4 separate regions of the Homo sapiens genome follow, and regions 1, 2 and 4 are each linked to region 3. Evidence: promoter capture Hi-C in human tissues and cell types (Jung and others, 2019). All regions are on one chromosome and are shown on one strand. The core of a region is centred on a gene start or on the middle of the fragment in contact, and the rest is flanking DNA. Distances in the headings are between cores, read along the strand shown. Region 1 has its middle 14 kb from the start of LINC00354. Region 2 has its middle 14 kb from the start of LINC00354. Region 3 holds the start of SOX1 (SRY-box transcription factor 1). Region 4 has its middle 21 kb from the start of LINC01070.

What was found. The method cuts DNA at HindIII sites, captures the fragments that hold promoters and counts their contacts. A contact is called where the count stands out against the background at its distance.
Region 1: a fragment that was not itself captured here is called in contact with the fragment with the promoter of SOX1 in region 3 in 8 of the 25 tissues and cell types used here (H1 embryonic stem cells, dorsolateral prefrontal cortex, heart left ventricle and 5 more).
Region 2: a contact is called between a fragment that was not itself captured here and the fragment with the promoter of SOX1 in region 3, in 2 of the 25 tissues and cell types used here (dorsolateral prefrontal cortex and mesendoderm cells).
Region 4: a fragment that was not itself captured here is called in contact with the fragment with the promoter of SOX1 in region 3 in 3 of the 25 tissues and cell types used here (H1 embryonic stem cells, mesendoderm cells and neural progenitor cells).

What each region holds. Positions count from the first base shown.
Region 1 is chr13:111,876,452-111,881,948 of GRCh38, forward strand. No RefSeq gene overlaps it. Among named protein-coding and RNA genes, the nearest start is that of LINC00354, 14 kb to the right of the region's middle. The HindIII fragment of the contact is 8,074 bases long and covers 1-5,497 here.
Region 2 is chr13:111,905,116-111,910,152 of GRCh38, forward strand. No RefSeq gene overlaps it. Among named protein-coding and RNA genes, the nearest start is that of LINC00354, 14 kb to the left of the region's middle. The HindIII fragment of the contact is 3,829 bases long and covers 1,238-5,037 here.
Region 3 is chr13:112,064,078-112,069,133 of GRCh38, forward strand. It overlaps SOX1 (SRY-box transcription factor 1), which reads left to right and starts at 3,072. Exons shown (of 1, transcript NM_005986.3): 1 at 3,072-5,056. The coding sequence starts at 3,582. The coding sequence ends at 4,757. All of the region lies in intron 1 of SOX1-OT (SOX1 overlapping transcript), which reads left to right. The HindIII fragment of the contact is 28,986 bases long and covers 1-5,056 here.
Region 4 is chr13:112,215,945-112,220,979 of GRCh38, forward strand. No RefSeq gene overlaps it. Among named protein-coding and RNA genes, the nearest start is that of LINC01070, 21 kb to the left of the region's middle. The HindIII fragment of the contact is 8,103 bases long and covers 1-5,035 here.

The DNA.
Region 1 (5,497 bases), core at 2,022-4,521, 190 kb before region 3:
TTCATGGGCTGCTGCATGACATAAAGGACGCCCAATGGAATTTGAATTTTGGATAAGCAATGAAGGCTTTTCTAGTATAAGTGTGACCCACATTGTGCACAGGCATCCTGTATTTTTACTTGCTACCTCTGGCAACCATGAGTGTGAAGGCTCAGAGGGCATGGAAGTCTCTATTTGTGTCTCCCATGCAAGACTGCTGGCAGCTATTGAGAGCCCAGGCGAGGGTACCTGGGTGAGCCACGGCTCCTTCTGTCCCAGCGGGGCTGTTGGGAGCTCAGGAACCTGGGTGGTTTTAGCTCCAGGTCTTTGTAATTTCTTAAGAAAAGCCACCGAGTTAGAAAGAGGCAGGAGAAGGGGAGGAGTTGCAGGGAAAAGGGAAGGGAATGATTAAGAGGGTATAGGACTACTTGATTTATGGCTTATGGGTAGGAATAGAAAGAACTAGATAGGATTTACCTTAATCGTACAGTGACTAATTGCTCAAAGATCGGTGACAGAGATGAATGCCGGTAAATATCTTTCTGGGCAAAAGCATCAAAGGTGATTAAACTCTGCTAGAATTAAGGACAATGCAACAGGGTTAAGAAAAGAGGGAAAAACATTTGTAAGATGAAGAAGTTTTCTCTAAAACCTTACCGCATCCTTATCCATCATGGGTCCTGCATGCTACATTGATCTCTGGTGTTTTACCCACTAACTTGTTCTTTGGATGTTTTCCTCATTCCTGAAAACTTTTGCTCCAGCCCTTTGGAAGTCACTATGGAATGGGGGTTTGGTGAAGGAAAGAGGAATCCGGGGATGTTTCTGTTTCTAAGACATGAAGTAAGCACAGTGTATTAGGAGAAGTGCAAAATTCTAGGGGTGGATGAAAATATCTTCCGAAGGTGGGGCAGGTAGGCAAGAAGCAACAGCACCCAGGGTAGCTACAATTTGCTTATAGACGTACATCTTTGGGACTTACTTCACACCAGGGTCTCCAGGGAATGAACCAGACAAACTTGCCAGGGAGAAGCTTCTATTTGGAAGGAAGGTCCTCCTTAGAGGCAAGCACACAGTTCTGAATACTGGGAAGCTACTGCAGGATCCAACTTTTCCTTTCATCAGGGCGTGGCGGTGAACTTCCTGTACCGCATGGCTGGTGAGAGCAGAGATGAGGCCTCAGTGCATAAACCATCCCCCCAGCCACCCCCACCCCATCTGTAGCAGCTCTGTTGACCCAGGTGAACTGATGAATGCTGTGCCCCTTCATGAGGGGGGTCTTCAAAGCATGCCACCTGCTTGTGTTGGTGACAGAAGTGATCTAGGAAAGGAACTCTCTACCAGACAACAGCTTCGTGAACAATTTTGATCCCATGTTTATACATTTAAAGTCTGAATGAGCTATTTCAATTTTTGAAATGTATCATTTATTGCATGTTATTGGGAATACAGTGTTGTTTGAGAATTTGGGGAGGGACACTCTTAGGATATGCCCATTACAAGTGTTGGGACATACCGTCATTTTTTTTATGGAGAGTAAAAAAGGGAAGAAAAAGAACCCCCCAACTTGAGTTGCTGCAACTTAGCTAGCAAGCCGACTCACTGTAGTCTCCCATCTGGAGAATGTCGCTCCTGCCTGCCTGTCGGTTGGACGATTAGAGGCTGAGTGGCCCTTCCAACGTGGAGAAGCGCGTTTGATGTACATTTTCTTCATGTCCATCAGCTCCCAGGTATGAACTTGCTGAAGGCTGCCCCAGGAACAGGACGGATACAGAATCAGAATCTTGGTTTTATAGAAAATACAGTTAATGATCCTCCGCGTAGAAATTGGTCTGTAAGAATATTATAATATATATTACGTGTGCACCAATCATTCTTCTCAGAACAACAGTGAATGTATTAGTCTTTTATTTACTGGGTTGTTTTTATTATTTGTCAACTATTTAGTTCAGCAATTAGAATATAAGCTTCAAGGCAAGAATGTGTATTCATAATTATAATTAGGTTTCGGAAAAATTAAAACCAAGTGAAAATAAATGGCTCCCTCTCTAGAAGAAACTTGCTGCTTTGTTGTCAAGTTAGCACTGAGGCATTAAGAATTGTAGATGGCTTACAACCCACTCTTATTTATGTAGTAGGGAATGCAGGAGCAAAGAATACGAGCAGCTCCTCTGCACATCTGTTCATATGAGGTGACTTGAATGTTCGTTTTGTGTTTGGTGCCTCAAGTCCAAGCATATTTAAAGCCAATTGGTAAGGACCTAAAGTTGGTGCATTGAAATTTGTGACTTTCTTTGGTATTATCCTGTTGACTGATGGTGCTGGTCTTACAGATTCTCTGGGGTGCAGTCAGGAGCAGGCAAACTGGCAATTTTAACACATTATAAGATGGTCTGGAAGCCCCAGAGAAAGCAATCCCCTGAGACGCTGGCAATTTTCTTTTTTTTCTTTTTTATTTTTTTATTTTCATTTTATTTTATTTTTTCCTTTTTTTATTATATTTTAAGTTCTAGGGTACACGTGCACAACTTGCAGGTTTGTTACATCTGTATACATGTGCCATGTTGGTGTGCTGCACCCATTAACTCATCATTTACATTAGGTATTTCTCCTAATGCTATCCCTCCCCGCTACCCCCACCCCATGACAGACCCCAGTGTGTGATGTTCCCCTTCCTGTGTCCAAGTGTTCTCAATGTTCAATTCACACCTATGAGTGAAAACATGTGGTGTTTGGTTTTCTGTCCTTGTGATAGTTTGCTGAGAATGATGGTTTCCAGCTTCATCCATGTCCCTACAAAGGACATGAACTCATCCTTTTTTATGGCTGCATAGTATTCCATGGTATATATGTGCCACATTTTCTTAATTCAGTCTATCATTGATGGGCATTTGGGTTGGTTCCAAGTCTTTGCAGTGTGGTGATTCCTCAAGGATCTAGAACTAGAAATACCATTTGACCCAGCCATCCCATTACGGGGTATATACCCCAAGGATTATAAATCATGCTGCTATAAAGACACATGAACATGTATGTTTATTGCGACACTGGCAGTTTTCTGCCTCTTGGAAAGAATTAAAGTCAACCTGAAGCAGGCCTCTCTGGTTCAGCAAGCATGGAACACAGCAGCTCCCTGGAAGCCCCCATAGAGCTTGTATGGCGACCGTAATATAATGGTGCTTGCAGGGGGCGAGGGATTCTTTTTGCCCCTCTGTGCTGAGGAAACCATTTCACTTTCTTGCCTGAATAAAAATGTTGCTGTTGTTTAATATAAGTAGCAGGAGGAGAACCCAGCACAGCAGGTACATGGCATCCAAAGACTCTCTGGAGAGACCTGGAGTTTTGTTTGGTAATGTTTTCTCTTTTAGGAGTGTCTCAGAGGTAACTCTGTGCTTACCTGATGACCCGTGGTCTGTCTGCCATAGGGAAAGCTCACGTCCACTCTGTATAAGCAAATAGCCCCTCCAGAGGGCCACCTGGAAACAGTGCTTGCTGCAGAAACCCTGCCGGGGGACTCAGGAGACACGGGGTTTAATTCTGCATAACCTTGGCGACTGCATAACCCTGGGCCAGTTGCTTGACTTCTCCAGGCCTTGGTTCCTTTATTTTCAAAACAAGTTTGGACTTGATCTTTTCTAGCTCTCAAGTTTTGCAATTCTATGTTTTATTGTTATAAAAATGTATTCTAAGCTCAATGTTTTTCTGACAGAAATTCGGGCTCATTTTGCTCAATCACTCTCTAGAACCAAAATCCAAAAATTAGAGCAGCCTGTGTGTGCATGTCCTCTTCCCACCAGAGCCCCTGAGCTCTGTGCTTCTGCTACCCAGGGCTGTTCCCGCAGTCAGCTGGAGCAGGGCCCCTGAGCTCTGTGCACCTGCCACCCAGGTCTGCTCCCACAGGCAGATTGAGCAGGACCCCTGAGCTCCCTGTGCCTGCCTGTTACCCAGGACTGCTCCCACGGGCAGATGGAGCAGAGCCCCTGAGCTCCGTGTACCTGCCACCCAGGACTGCTCCTGTAGGCAGATGGAGCGGGGCCCCTGAGCTCTGTGGGCTTGTTACCCAGGGCTGCTCCCGCAGGCAGATGGAGGAGGGGACATCCCACATCCCACATACTTTGGGATGTGCTCTTGTGCATATGGTCGCTTAGAAAACAAGGCATTCATCACGATTAAGTTGATCTCATTACCAAGCAATAAATTGGAAATTGCAATAAAATGAGGTTGATTTCTGACTGGCAAATTTTGGTTTCAGGGCGGAAAGGAAATAATCATATTTAAAGCTGCAACAGCTGTTGCATCGTATTATATTTTAAACCCTTTTAGAGGAATTAGTTAATTAATTTTAACATTGTTAAACTCTCTTTAATAGTGTTCCAAAATACCTAGCAGTGATTAATCATGATCGGAATTTTTATCAGTCATGATCTAATACGTTTTCCCAAAAAGAAGATTTCATTGCACATTAAAATTACTTAGTTCATATTCTTTAATTGTAGATCTTAATCCTGTTTGAAAATATAATCTTTATCCATTCAGTGTCGTGCAAAGTTAGTGCTTCTCCTCAAAAAAACATTTTCAAACTTTGCTTGGGTTCTTTTCTTCCCCTTTGCTAAGCCATATCATTTAATTTCATGTGGCTTTAATGAGTAATTGTTTTCAACAGTTTCTAAGAGTTTCAGTCAGCAATATTTCATTCCAGAATAAAAGGTAATGATCCGTAAATTCCTAATGCCATAATTTTATAGCCAGTAAATTAGTCTTTAATGGGTTCAATAAGTTCTGTGATGTATGTCATTAATTGTTAATGGTGTTTTAACTAGATAATTGTTAGGAAGGGCTGTTTATCATCACCACCGGTGAATGACTGATCCCTAGTTTTGGTTCCACTTCATATCATGGAGCTTATTTTATCTGGCTTTGTGTGCTGAGAGCTGATGAGGTGCGCGAAACGCACAGGCCAAGCATCCCCTTCCCACATTAGCATATCCTGCACTGAGACACATAACTCTACAGCCTTCCATGCCAATTTACTTTATCTTCTGTATCAGTTAGCTGTTGGTCCTGTTATGCTGGGTAACAACCCACACCAAAACGCAGTGGCTAAAATAACCATTGTTCATGCTCACTGTGATGGTTGGTTTCACGTGTCACATTGGTGAGACTGTGGTATCCAGTTATTCAGTCAAATAAGAATCTCGTGTGACCGTGAAGATACTTTGTAGATGTTAACATCATGATCCAAATATGAATCATGTTTGAAATCTCCTTTCTTGTAGAAGATTGTAGATCTCCCTACAATCAGGAGACTCTTGAGTCAAGCAGACGACTCTCCCTAATGTGGGTGGGCCTCATCCAATCAGCTGACATTCTTAAGAGCAAAGACCGAGGCTTCCCAGAGAAGGAGGACTGCAGTGTTAGCTCCTGCCTGTGTTTCTAGCCTGCAGCCTACCCCTCGATCCTGGACTTGCCAGCCCCCCTCGCACATGCGCAGGTTCTGTGGAGACGGGCTGGTCTCCTG
Region 2 (5,037 bases), core at 1,902-4,401, 160 kb before region 3:
CACTCTTACCGGCCTTGGTTCCATTGGAAACCTGATCGTATCTTGGTAATGCGGTGCCGCTGGGCTCCAAGAAGCTTCCTGCCTTTTAAAGCATTTTTCTTGTGAAGCCCATCGTGACATGACAAATAAGCAGTCCATGTACCTTCGTATGTTCACAGAGAGTTCCCGGCAGGGGATGTGGCTTCTGTGGCTCAGGTTAGAACCCAGCCTCTGTCCCTGTCCGTCTGTGTTCTAGCTCGCCAGACTTAAACAGTGGACTAGCAAGGCGGGAGGAGCACGTGTTTGGAGTGTGGCCCCACGTCCCCGCCCCCTTCTGCGTCCCCGCCCCCTTCCGCGTCCCCGCCCCCTTCCGCGTCCCCGCCCCCTTCCGCGTCCCCGCCCCCTTCTGCGTCCCCGCCCCCTTCCGCGTCCCCGCCCCCTCCACCCTCAGTGACTGTCACTTTCTCTCTCAAGCTGCCCTCTCACGCCTGTGTGCCAGTGAAGGCAGGGTCAGAGCTCTGCTCACAGCTCTGACACTTCAGTGGCTTCACGTGACACAAGTTTTATTTGTCCTTACTTCGCAGTGCTGTATGTTGGTTTTTGGGGTGGAAGACAGACCCTACTCCGTTCCGTGGTTCAGAGACTGTTGGCTGGAACTCAGCCTCATAGCTGCACTGATGGTGGCTTAGGCACGTGAAGTCACCGGTGGGCCAGGAAGATGGTGGATGCGTGTCATGAGCATCAAGCCAGCCTCTGACTCTCCTGAGACTTACGAAGAAAAATGCAATTGCTTCACAGTCCACATTCTAAAAACCTTAATTTTTTATTTGTATTATTTTTTGTTTGTTTGTTTTTGAGACAGAGTCTCAGTCTTGTCACCCAAGCTGGAGTATCAAGCCAGCCTCTGACTCTCCTGAGACTTACAAAGAAAAATGCAGTTGCTTCACAGTCCACATTCTAAAAACCTTTTTATTTTTTGTTTGTTTTTGAGACAGTCTCAGTCTTGTCACCCAAGCTGGAGTATCAAGCCAGCCCCTGACTCTCCTGAGACTTACGAAGAAAAATGCAATTGCTTCACCGTCCACATTCTAAAAACCTTTTATTTTATTTTTTATTTGTATTATTTTTTGTTTGTTTGTTTGTTTTTGAGACAGAGTCTCAGTCTTGTCACCCAAGCTGGAGTGCAGTGGTGTGATCTTGGCTCACTGCAACCACCACCTCCCAGGTTCAGGTGGTTCTCCTGCCTCAGCCTCCAGAGTAGCTGGGATTACAGGCACGTGCCGCCACACCTGGCTAATTTCTGTATTTTTAGTAGAGATGTGGTTTTGCTGTGTTGGCCAGGCTGGTCTCAAACTCCTGACCTCAGGTGAACCACCTGCCTTGGCCTCCCACAGCGTTGGGATTACAGACATGAGCCACCGTGCCAGGCCCATAGTCCACATTCTTATTTGGGATGGGAAGCAGTGGTTTAAATTTTAAAGATTCCAAATCTACCACCTCATAATCAGTTGGGAGCAGGCAGTGCCTGGCCGCTACGCACCTGGAGCACTTCCAGGCACCGACGCTGCTGCACACTTTATGATCTCTTTGTGGCCATGTTGAGCTGATTGAAATGGAAGATATTCCCTAAAATCAGAATCATAAAAATCTGCAATGAGATTTCCAGTTTTGATCCTGCTCCCAGGGCAACATTGTACTTAACTTTGAGACTTAGCTCTCATGTTACTTCCCTCTGAAGCCTCCCCAGCTCTTTTCTTGCTTTCCTCAAGCTCAGTGTCTGGGTTCCCACATTTTCCTAATGACCTGCGAATCCCCATGGATCCCAGATCTGGGCTGTGCTGTCCCTGATGTTTCTTCTCCCACAATGCGCGCCCTTGGGACCGTGGCTGCCCTGTCTGCACTTGGAGCAAGCACCGTGTACACTGTTGGTGCTCAGTCAATGCCTATGAAATGGACCCAGGTCACGGCCTCCAATACAGCTACACAGAATGGGACTGGAGACCTGAAATGCTGCCTGTGCCTCGTGGCTTCTGTCAGAGGGGTCATTACCAAGGAAATGGAGAGGGGCTCGGTTCTTGACCCTAGTTCGCATATTTCTCAATTTTTGAGAAAACAGTTCTTCAAATTCTGCCTGTGTCTCTTTTCCTTTTTTCTTTTTCATGTTTAATGTTTGTGGGTACATGAGATATTTTGATACAGGCATGTAACATGTAATAATCATGTCTCTTTTCTAATGGACAAATGAGCTTCTGTTCTGTTGGGGCTGTTATTAGGGAGCATAATTCTTCCCTGAAAGGACAGGGCTAATGTCAGGCACTGAGGAACGGGCAGAGGCTCCAGGGACAGAAAGCGTGGAGTGGGGCGGAAGCCTCAGCCCAGGGAAAGAGAGCCCCTTCCTCTGCCTGGCTGTGCTCTTGGAAGCTTAACCCCAAGGCTACAGGGACCCTGGTGGTGCAGAAGGAGAGGCTTCTACTCCAGGACAGGGGCCTACCCAGTGGAAGGGAGCTGGAGAGGCTTCTACTCCAGGACAGGGGCCTACCCAGTGGAAGGGGGGCTGGCACCAGGTGCCTCCAGGAAGGTCACATCTGAGGAGTCGGAGCTGGTGTCTCTTCTCTGAAGTTCTCTCACCCTGAGCCTGCAGGGAAGTCATGTGAACACAACAGCCTGACCTCCTGGGAGCTCTGGGAAGTCCAGGTGTCTGAACCTTGCTTGATCTGGAGATATAAGAGGGAGAGGCTCCTGGGGCCCAGGGGTGTTGATGGCTTGATGGGTGAGAAGCGCAAGTGGGGAGAGTTTGAGAAGTGAAGACGCTCCCTGCATGGTAGGACAGTGGACGAAGCTCGCGTATTCAACCTGGCCGCTGTCTTCATGGAGCAAAGGGACTGATTCCTTTTTAAGCATAAGTAGATGTCCAAGATGGCATCTGGCAACAGATTCTTTCTTCTCTGTGCACTAAGAGTGGAGATTTCTTTGATCTCAAAAAGAGGAATTAGAAAGTAGCAAACATTCATACCTTCTCTTGGCAAGATATAAAATGTTGCAGACATACACCATAAGATGTAAAATACATTCTGTAAAATATAAAATGTGTGCATTACTTACTTTTGTACATGGGCATTACACATATACACACACATTCCCTCCAAGGAGTGAATGAATAGCGTCTTCTGATTCCTCTGGAGCAGCATAGAATGTGGTTTGGAAAATGCTGTCTTGACCCAGTTTGGAGGTCCTGGCTAGAGGTGGCCAGGTCCCCTTCTTCAGCCCACATCCTGACCGCCTGCTTATTGGGTCACCCTCCGGGCCACTATCTGTCTGAGCTGATCACACTGGGGCAGGTGCCAGACAGCTAGAGACAGCCCCAGTGCCACAGGGCCTGCCAGAATTATTCAAACCAGTCAATCCTAAGCCTGCCTTCCCTGCCCCGGAAACGGCCATAAAGGCTGGTAGATAGAGGCTCCTGCCATAGCCCGTCTCCCTCCCGGCCGACCCGGCCTTCCCTGCGTGCCCTACAGGGTGCTGCTTGCCTCCTTCTCCTGGAAGCAGTGACTGTAACAAACTCTTCTCAATGGCAGTCGTCTCCCGATCTGCTGGCCTCTTCCACTTAAATCATAATAAAATCTGGCCAGGCACAGTGACTCATGCCTGTAATCGTGGCGTGGGAGGCAGAGGTGGGTGGATCACCTGAGGTCAGGAGTTTGAGACCAGCCTGACCAATATGGTGAAACCCCATCTCTACTAAAAATACAAAAATTAGCCAGGCGTGGTGACAGGTACCTGTAATCCCAGCTACTCAGGAAGCTGAGGCAGGAGAATCACTTGAACCTGGGGAGGCAGAGGTTGGAGTGAGCGGAAATTGTACCACCGCACTCCAGCCTGGGCAGCAGAGCTCAACTCTATCTCAAAATAATAATAATAACAAAAACTATTAAAACACAGTGGTTAATCAGCCTGTCTTTTTCCAGATGAAGGATCAAGAAGTCCACTGGCTTCCAGGCCAAGGCTGTGCTGGCATCCCTGACACTGTCCACCCCTGCTCCTCTCCAACCACCGGAGGCGAGACAAGGCGGGTGGCCACATCTAGACCCGCAGCAGCCGGGGCAGGGGGCCGTTATCTCGCTCCTAATGGGAAAAGGCTCTGGGTGAACCCCTGGCACAGCAGCAGCCAGGCGGTGGCTGTAATGGCCAGGAGAGAGTCTGGACACTCTAATTTGTGTTCTATGCTTGCCTGTGGTTGACCTCACTTGATTTCTAACTGCAGCCTCTAGGTTTTGCATCCACATTTTATCTTCTACCTGCATAGGGTTCTGTTTCCATCTGATTCAGAATAAGACTCTCTGTCACCTGAGATCGGATCTCAGTCCACTGGATTTGAGGGTGAGACCCTGGTACACCTTTTCCTTCAGCCAATAAGGTGATGCCCCCCCCCCCCCGAAGGTCTCTCTAGCATTGTGGGCCCTGGGCACAGAGGGGCCCAGGGGTGAGTAGGGGCCGCACGTCCTAGGATAACGAGTGGACAGGGTGGGGTTGGTGAAGGGAAGTCGTATCCCGCCGTGAGTGGTGCTGGCGGTGCTAGGAGGTGCTGGGCAGGTGCCGTGCTGGCCTGGGGGAATGTCACTCAGGCCACAAGGTTCTTAGGGTTCCAGATCCTGGATGAACGGACTCCCTGTCCCTGTGGAGCTCATGGCTGTGACTCGGTGGGCATGGAGCCTTCTCTTCCTTATGCCTTGGCCTCCAGATACTTACCCCACGTCTTGCCTTTCATTCTTTCTCTAGTCCTTTTGGCAAATGGGAAAGTGGGGAATTCCTGCTTTTCTCACAAACCTCCAGCTCCTGGCCTCTGGGTGGATGTGTGCTGAGGTAGCCCTGTTTATGCCCCTTACTGCTCCTCAGTATCTGGGCTTCAATACTGCCCCTCACCAAAAGGGTGATGGGACCCCCCATTGAAATTACCATCAAAATGGGGTGGGAATCTCAGCCAATGGATCCCCAGAGACTGGCTCCATCCACCCCAGACCGAGGGCTCCTTCCTCAGGTCCAGGTACCCAGAACGCAGGG
Region 3 (5,056 bases), core at 1,822-4,321:
AGACTTCCTATTACATTACTTGGGAATAGGGAAGTCAGTGTTCAAATCTCCAGGAGTCCAGCCTTTGGGAAAGTACTGGGTTTGAAGGAGGTAACTGCCAACTTGGCTGGAGGTAGAAGGGAGAAGGAGGTGCTTTTCAAACTGGTTTTGGACTGTCTTCTCTCTTCTTAAAGAGTCACTGAGGAAAGAGTTTAGAAGGAGCAAGAAATTGAGGCTTCCAGAAGCCATCGATCACCAGCAGGAGTTAATATTATGCTCGTCAATCCTCATGCCAGGAATGAAGGCACAGAGGTCTAGCATGCAGTGCCCTGTGCTGCCTAATTGGCACTGCCTGCTGCTGCCAATCATTTATCGCTTGGCAACAAGTTACACCTGCAGCTTTGGTTTAATACTTATGCAGGTGGCCACACATAGTGCGTGCAGCCGCTTGGGCCTAGGGAACATCTCGTCACTGAAGAGGGCTTATGGAGAGCACCCTGAACGTTGAGCACTAGTGTGAGCTCACAGGATGCTAAACCATTTTCCTCTTATTTAGATGCTCTGAAAAACAAGGGTAACGTCGTATTTGGAAACAATTTTCGGGACTATGGTAGAAAAAAAGTAGACCATTTCAAAGTCAGCTATCCAAGTTCCCCAAAGCATAAAGCATTCCTGCAAAGCACACTGGAGTGCAGGGTGTTTATAAAATAAATTGCTCCATTGATATGGAAAATAATGTGCCAAGCCTGATTCATACAAAGCATTTTCAGGGAGTCTTAAGCTATTTAGTTTAAACTCTAAATTGAAAAGCAGAGGAAAGAAATCTTTCAACTGCTAAGTGGATAATATAGTTTATAATTTGTAAACCATTTCCTTTATTTCAGTCTTGCTGACTTTCCATAACACACTGGATCTCACTGCACACCCATTGCCTCCTAAATTATCAAAGAAAAAAATGGGGCTATAGCATTCCCAAACAATATTATTGCTCCTTTTTTGTTCATTCACAATGTAACTGATATTTGTAGGTAGTGCATGTAACAAATCAAAAGATTTAACAAACTCGACTGGTGAAATAAGAAGGTAGTTGGAAGCCCAGTTTATAACCTAGATATTTAGTGAAAAAATAAATATAAAATGATGTTCCCTTTCTAATATAATTATATATTACTTGATGGATTTACTAGTAAATGCTGAATGGCCTGGAATGAAAGCAGTTTAATCTGCAGAGAGATCAATTTGCTGTTGCACTTCACACTGTAGCAACCCTGCAATAATAAAACAAACCCTACAGTAATAATCATAGCAATTGAGAGGAAATAAAGCATTATTCTTTTACCTTGGACAAGCAACAGGGTCAAGAAATTCACAACCTCAGAAGTTTTTTTAAGAGGAAAAAAAAGGTGTCACGTGTTCGCTGCCCAACAGACTCAAACATCCTATTACTCCTATTACCGTTATCATCATCTTTACTGAATATTCCTACTACAAGACAGGCAGACATGTGACATGCGGTGAAGGTTCTACTTTACCCACCACCAATCTCCACAAGCACTCTCATCTCAGGGTGCCTCGGGGAGGGCAGAGGAGGAATACTTGGGCTCAAAAGTCGTCTTTGGACCACTTTCAGATCAGTCTGGTGGAAACGGTAGTGTGAGCGCTATGCTACTTGAGACTGCGTTTGAAAATCTCTTTCACGTTCCCAAATCAAAGCCACTTTGAGGTTTAAGAATGATAACCACAGGTGAATGCCTTACTCTTTCCACGAGCCAGGCCTTTCCTTTGCATGACGCAGACCGGCGGCTGAGACCCGTCCTGAGGCCCCGCCTTTCATTCGGTTTATGTGGCCCCGCGCAGTTCACGCAGTTTTCTCCGTTCTTAGGCAACCAGCTCGTGGGAAATTCACTCCAGAAAAGCGTGCGCCATATCATTATTTTGCGATTCAACAAACTTTTTCAACTGTTGTTCAGGAACTAGATTCCAGATAGATCTTGTTGTGTTCGGCCTTCCTAGAAATTCCTTTTCCAGAGGAAGAAGATCCGGGTTGGGAAGAGTGCGTGACTATGGCCCCGGGCTCATTGAAAGACTCCTCCCCACAAAAGTTTAGGGCTGATACTAAACGAAGCTATGGAGCCATGCCCACACAAATACTCCCCCTTTACCCGAATTGTGGGGCCTGGACTGTGAAGGCCTTCGCTGCAAGAGCGGGCACTGGCGAACTTCAGTGCACGCCGCGGCCGAGAACGGATGCAGGGCGGGGGATGGCTGAGCCGCCTGATCCTTGCAGAGAACCTGCAGGGGCCCTCGGAGGGTATCCCCTGCGTCCAAGGGAGCGCCCCTCCTTTTCAGCACTCGGGGGAACTGAGGGCGACGTGCCAGCCCCGCACTCAACTTTCCCCTTCCCTGCAGGCACAGAGTTGGCCGGCGGGGGCAGAGGAGGAGCTGGGTCTCCACTGCGCCCGTTTAAACCTGGCCAGGGGCTGCGTTTCCTCCCCCCACCCCACGACGATCCTTTCTTAGTCTTCGCTTTTCAACCCAATCGTTAATCATTCGGAACGCGCGGGCGGGGAGCGGCGAGGAGGGCGAGCTCGGGGTTCGCCGCCGCCGCCGCCGCCGCGCGCGCGCGCTCAGGAAGCGGTGTGGCTGTCACCCCCTCCCGGGCCTCCTCCCCCCTCCTTCCTGCTTTGCTCCCCCTCCTTCCTCCCCTCCTCCCCGCTCCGCCGCCCGCGCCCAGTGTATCTACTCCCTCCCCACGTCACTCGCCAGCGCGCCATGCAAATCACCGCCGCCGCCGGCTCCCATTGGCCGCGGCGCGCTCATTTAATGGCAGCCCGGGCCCGGCGTATGGCTGCTGGGCCCCGCGCGCCGCCGGCCCCGCGTGCGCCTCCGCTCCGAGCGCACGGCCCCGGGCAGGCAGCGGGCAGCCCATCCCGGGCTCGGCGGCCCCGGCTCTCCGGCCCTCTCCGCGAGCCCGCGCTCCTCCCGCTGTCCCCGGGCCCCTCCCTGGCTGCACCGTAATCGCCCCCTGCAGGCCCCCCTGCGCCTCCCCCCCCCCGCCACTGGCGCCTGGCTTCCCCCGGGCACCTGGGACCAGCACATGCCCAGCGCACGCGGCGCGCCGCCCTGCTAGAAGTTGCAGCCTCCGAGTTGGAGGCCGCTGAGGACCGAGCGCAGGAGGAAGGAGACAGCGCGCAGCGGCGGCCGGCGAGGAGACAGCACACCCCGGGCCGGGCCCAGCGCACCGCTCCCGGCCCCAAAAGCGGAGCTGCAACTTGGCCACGACTGCACCTGTTTGCACCGCTCCGCCGAGGGCGCCTGGGCTGCGGTGGCGGCGAAGACGGCGACCCCGACCGTCGGCCTCTTTGGCAAGTGGTTTGTGCATCAGGAGAAACTTTCCACCTGCGAGCCGAACCGGCGCCGAGTGCGTGTGTTTCTGCCTTTTTTTGTTGTCGTTGCCTCCACCCCTCCCCATTCTTCTCTCCGCTAGGACCCCCCCGCCCCCGTCTCACTCCGTCTGAATTCCTCTCCGTCTCCCTCCCACCCCGGCCGTCTATGCTCCAGGCCCTCTCCTCGCGGTGCCGGTGAACCCGCCAGCCGCCCCGATGTACAGCATGATGATGGAGACCGACCTGCACTCGCCCGGCGGCGCCCAGGCCCCCACGAACCTCTCGGGCCCCGCCGGGGCGGGCGGCGGCGGGGGCGGAGGCGGGGGCGGCGGCGGCGGCGGGGGCGCCAAGGCCAACCAGGACCGGGTCAAACGGCCCATGAACGCCTTCATGGTGTGGTCCCGCGGGCAGCGGCGCAAGATGGCCCAGGAGAACCCCAAGATGCACAACTCGGAGATCAGCAAGCGCCTGGGGGCCGAGTGGAAGGTCATGTCCGAGGCCGAGAAGCGGCCGTTCATCGACGAGGCCAAGCGGCTGCGCGCGCTGCACATGAAGGAGCACCCGGATTACAAGTACCGGCCGCGCCGCAAGACCAAGACGCTGCTCAAGAAGGACAAGTACTCGCTGGCCGGCGGGCTCCTGGCGGCCGGCGCGGGTGGCGGCGGCGCGGCTGTGGCCATGGGCGTGGGCGTGGGCGTGGGCGCGGCGGCCGTGGGCCAGCGCCTGGAGAGCCCAGGCGGCGCGGCGGGCGGCGGCTACGCGCACGTCAACGGCTGGGCCAACGGCGCCTACCCCGGCTCGGTGGCGGCGGCGGCGGCGGCCGCGGCCATGATGCAGGAGGCGCAGCTGGCCTACGGGCAGCACCCGGGCGCGGGCGGCGCGCACCCGCACGCGCACCCCGCGCACCCGCACCCGCACCACCCGCACGCGCACCCGCACAACCCGCAGCCCATGCACCGCTACGACATGGGCGCGCTGCAGTACAGCCCCATCTCCAACTCGCAGGGCTACATGAGCGCGTCGCCCTCGGGCTACGGCGGCCTCCCCTACGGCGCCGCGGCCGCCGCCGCCGCCGCTGCGGGCGGCGCGCACCAGAACTCGGCCGTGGCGGCGGCGGCGGCGGCGGCGGCCGCGTCGTCGGGCGCCCTGGGCGCGCTGGGCTCTCTGGTGAAGTCGGAGCCCAGCGGCAGCCCGCCCGCCCCAGCGCACTCGCGGGCGCCGTGCCCCGGGGACCTGCGCGAGATGATCAGCATGTACTTGCCCGCCGGCGAGGGGGGCGACCCGGCGGCGGCAGCAGCGGCCGCGGCGCAGAGCCGGCTGCACTCGCTGCCGCAGCACTACCAGGGCGCGGGCGCGGGCGTGAACGGCACGGTGCCCCTGACGCACATCTAGCGCCTTCGGGACGCCGGGGACTCTGCGGCGGCGACCCACGAGCTCGCGGCCCGCGCCCGGCTCCCGCCCCGCCCCGGCGCGGCGTGGCTTTTGTACAGACGTTCCCACATTCTTGTCAAAAGGAAAATACTGGAGACGAACGCCGGGTGACGCGTGTCCCCCACTCACCTTCCCCGGAGACCCTGGCGACCGCCGGGCGCTGACACCAGACTTGGGTTTTAGACTGAACTTCGGTGTTTTCTTGAGACTTTTTGTACAGTATTTATCACCTACGGAGGAAGCGGAAAGCGTTTTCTTTG
Region 4 (5,035 bases), core at 393-2,892, 150 kb after region 3:
TGGAATGGCAGCGGATCCCCTGCACGGGTACATCCACTGCTTGCTGTCAGGAGCCGAGGTCCGGGTGCTCCAGGGCCTGCAGGCCCTTCGGAGCAGGAATCTGACTCCCTCCTGGGGTCTCAAGGACGCCTTGGCCGGGCGATGGGCCTCCCCCACGCATTGTGTCCAGGAGGTTCTGTTCAGAGCGTGTGCTTCGAAGCTCACGCTGAGGCTAAGGTGATGAATCCGCTTATTTCTAGGGCCCTGCTGGGGGAGAACGAGGCCCCTTCCCGGGTGTCAGGGAATGCAAGCCTTCACAGCTGACACCACAGTGCCTTCGAGATGGAATCAGCGTCCCAGTGTGGGTGCCCAGGGGATTGTGGGCCGGGGGATGAGGGAGTGGAGGACCCCAGGACCTGGAGGAACCGTTCTCAGCTGGGTCCTGAAGTCTCTGCAGAGTTGGTCAGGTGGAGGACAGGATTCCAGGTGGAAGAGGATGGTACAAGCCGAGGCAACGGGCTGAGAAAACACATGGCGTGAAAGGAGCAGGAGACATTTCTGGAAAGAGAAAATGCAAGCAGGGAAGTTCCTGCTGAACCCACGGCCTCGCTGGCCGCACTGAGAGCGTCTGGTCCACAGTGGCAGGAGAGACAAACGATTGTAGGAGAAAAATCTGGGTTTTTTTAATTGTGTTATTTTTTTACATTAAAATTACTGGGAGAGAAAAGTAATGGATATCCTTTAAAATATTGGGAAAAATACAGAAAAGTACATAAAGAAAGTTACTCATGCTTATGTCACTTTTGAGCTCCCTCAAGTCCCCAGGCATTAGACGGGGAAGAGGAGGGGCGAGGCCACAGAGCAGGGAGAGCATTGAAAATACCCACAATGAGGGTGCACGACCAACCATTGACCTATGGGCCCTTGTCAGAGCTTCGCCTCCTGAAGCTAATTGTTCATCCAAGTGATTCTGTCAAAATTATATGCTGTTAGCAAATAAAAATGATTCATAAACATGTATGAGCACCCCAAATCCTGCACTTTCTACTAAGAAACAAGTCCGGCCAATTCTCTCTCTACTTCTGACATGGTGAGAGGTGTCAGAAAGTGACGGGGTGAGTTTGACATTAGAAATGGAGGGCAAATAGGAGAAGAACTGACAAACTGGAGGTGCCCCTTCTTTCTCTGGTCATTGGCCCGTGCACGGAGCTTAGCCCTGAGAAAAGACTGATCCCCAGTGATTTTCCTTTCGTGTCTTCACTAACAACACGGAGACTATTCATGAGATTAGACTGCTGTCAGAGCAAACTGGCATGTTCAGTATCTGCGAATTCTCAGAGAATAGATACTAAGTGTAATGCATCATTTTCATTTCTCTGGAAAATAAAGATATTAGCAAAGAATGACCTGGTGCATGCAGCTGCAGTTTCTCCACTCCAGCAAGTGTGAGTGAGTGTGCTGCTCCCGACCTGCTCCAAGAGGGAAAGCTGAGCTGGAGACCCCGGCAGGTCATAGAGGGTTTCCTATCAGGGTGTCTTGCACACGTGTGTTTGCAGGTGTGCACACATGTGTACACACATGTGCTGATATGCGTGCAAGTGCGTGTTTGCATGTGTGCACATGTGGGTGCATGTGTGTGTTGGTATTCATGCACTTGTTTGTGTCTGAATGTGTGCATGTGTGTGCATGTGTGTTGATATGCATGCACATGTGTGTTTGTGTGTGTTTGCATGTGTGCACGTGTGGGTGCATGTGTGTTGGTATGCATGTGTTTGTGTCTGCACGTGTGCAAGTGTGTGTGCATGTGTGTGTTGCTATGCATGCATATATGTGTTTGTGTGTTTGCATGTGTGCACGTGTGGTGCAGGTGTGTTGCTATGCATGCACGTGCATGTTAGTGTGTGTTTGCACATATGCATGGGTATCTGGGGCTCCCTGACAATATGAGGAAAATTGATGAATTTTTCTGGAAAATACTAATTACCACGGTAACCACCGTGGTCCGCACACTGTGGAAAGCTGAGATGCCAGGACTTTTTTGTGACTGTCATAAATCTTGTCAGTCAGCGCTTCATCTGATTAGGGTGACATTCACACAGCCTCCACGAAGTGGTTAAAAATTGCTATTTCCAGTCACTTAGTTGACTATTTCTCAATAGTCAACGCCACAAGTCAAATTCACGTCTCCACGTTTGACCAAAACATGTAGAATTTGAACTTTGAGAATAAAAAATGAAATCATATGCAAAATATATATTTCAGGGGTGGGATAGAGCCATTTTAGGCATTGAAAACTGCCTGAATCTATAGAACAGCATATAAAACAACTTACTAAATAGAACATAAATAACAAAGAACAATAACCTATCATTTTGTAAAATCGCAGATCTTCTTCACCAGTTTCCTTCTCTTGGCAGCAGAACAACACAAAGTTCAGAGGCCCTCCTCTGCCAGTGGTGTGGGCAAACCCCTCAACCCATTCAGGGCAACCCCATAGCAGCACTGTCTTCTCCCACCAAAAGTGGATTCCTTTTCACCCTGCTGGGTCCCTGTTTCTCCGTTTAAAATTTACAGAACCCTCTGTTAATTGAACTAGTTGCCAAAGAGAAGCAAAGTGCTCGTTCTGGAGCAAACGCCTCATGGGACATGGATGTTGCCAGCCAGGCCCTGGCACCTCCATCATCTTCACAGACAGCGGAGCAGGAGAAAGTCCTTTCCCGAGAGGCACCAAGTTCACTTCATGTTCCCAAGGACGACTGCTCAGAGAGTGGCCACATGGAGCCAGAATAAGAAAATGTGGAAAGTCTTTTGTATGACTTGAAAGAGAAACTGTCACCCAAACTGGAAAAGTTAAAAATAAGAAGGATAAAGGATGATAGAAAGAAAAAAGAGAGAGGAGAGGAGAGGAAGGAAGGAAGGGAGGGAGGGAGAGAGGGAAAGAGAAGAAAGAAAGAAAGAGAGAGAGAGAGAAAGAAAAAGAAAGAAAGAAAGAAAGAAAGAAAGAAAGAAAGAAAGAAAGAAAGAAAGACAAAAAGAAAGAATTAGCTGCAACTTCTCTGCATCCTACTAAAGCGTGATTCAAGTAGGATCCAGACCCGACAGCCAATTACTTCTTTCATCTCTGAATATCTCTAAAACAATAAAAGGCACTGTGTTTGAGTAGCTAGTCAAATCCAGTCCCGAGGTCAGCGCTGTTCTAATTAAAGTGACCTCACCTGAGACAGGAACAGTGTCCGTCTTAAACAAAGCACAGCTGAAAGCAATCCCCAGGACAACTAAAAACATCATGAATTTGGTCTCTAGGTAAGGAAAAGAAAACTTGCTTAGAAGCAAGTCTTTCCCATCTCCTTTCGCCTCTCTTGTGTTTAGTGAGATTTTTGTTGAAAGTCACAAGAAATCCTATTGTCTTCCTCTTTCCTCTCTTTTCCCGCTACAGTTCCAGGAGGCAAGTTTCACCTGACTCAGAATCCATCCCTTTTATAATGGCATTAAAAGATGACTTCAGGGTGTATCATTCCTTGATGGATGGTTTTTTTGTTTTTGTTACGACGAAATATTGCTGAGTTTCCCCTAAATTTGACCGGGATTTGCAACTGGGAAACATATAACTACCAGCCATCGTTATTAGCATTCGTAATTATCACCAGTAATTGTTACCACAGTTTTCTAACAATTACCGCTTTGAGCAATAGAATCCGAGGACAGTGCCATTCATTTAGCAAAGCAGTGTGGAGTTTCCATTTAACCAGACTGTCCAAGCATGAGCAGAAATGAAAACCAGAAATGCTAAATCTATATTTAAATGCAGACAAAAATCCTGTGACAAAGTCGTTCTTTCCCAGCTCAAATCAAAATTTTAAACAGTTTACCTCCTTTATGTCTTCCCAAGAGTTTTATGCAACAAACTTTCAGTGTCATGACTAATAGCGGCTCTTGCCAAGGCTGACTCTTAAAGCCTCTCCTCCGCCTTGTGATCTGCAGCGCACGTCTTATTATGGGGTGCATTATGCAGACGCCAGCCCTGTGATGGGACAGGCAACCCCGCTGTGAGAATGCCTATCAGAGCTTCTTTTAAGGCCCTTTCTCAATTGTCAGCAAAGTATTTTTTAAGGTTAAAAGGTGTAAAATTATTCTGAAATGCTTTTCTGACCTGTCGCCTATCACTGCAAAGAGCTATAGTTCATTTTTTTTTCTAAAATTGTATTTTTTGAAATGCAGTAATATTATAAGAATAAGCTTCATATGAGGAAAATAGTCTCCTGAAATGTTCGTGGTATTTTTTTTTGCATGCCTTCTTCTCCAATGACTGCAATACTAATCATTGTTTTATGCTTAGAATTATAATTTTGATGCAATTTTTCTTATACCAAGCCACCATTTCTGTGGTGAAATTAATATAAATGACCATTACTTTTTGCATCTCTTTCTTTTTAAAAAACAATTCCTGTTACAGTGGTTGCTTCATATTCCATAATGTCAAAGTCAAATTCACCACTGTCATGAGATGTAATCTCATTATTGAGAGGCGTACAGGCCGACGAGCTGTCATTCTCAACGCCGCACCTGCACGTTGATTGAAACCACCCTGGAAGTCAGCGGGAAAACCAGCAGACGGTTTGGCCTTCCTGCCCTCATCTGTTTCGCAGCTCCCGAGACTTGCTTGGCCAGAGAAGTTGCAAGCGTGGCAGATAACGTAGGGTCAGCAATCCCATCATTGTAGATGCCTGGCCTGTGAGGCCCCCAGCTGCTGTTTTCTATAGGGTGGAATTCTGTTATTTTGCACTGTTTATGCTCCAATAAAATGTCTGGTAGGTTTTGGAATCTATTTTTGGGTCCCAGGTATAAGGAAAATCAGTGGAGAAGCTCGCCCCAGGGAGGACAGCAGGCCTGCCTCACTCAGCTTGCAGCAGGCATGAAGACGGCACCAGGGCCAATGTGAGGGGAGCTAACGTGGAAGAGAACTTGCTGTATTTCCGTCTGCCCCCTTCATGCACATCAAACAACCTGCGTCAGAATTGGGCTTCCTTTTGTTGCTTTTTGCTTTTGCACTGCTCCT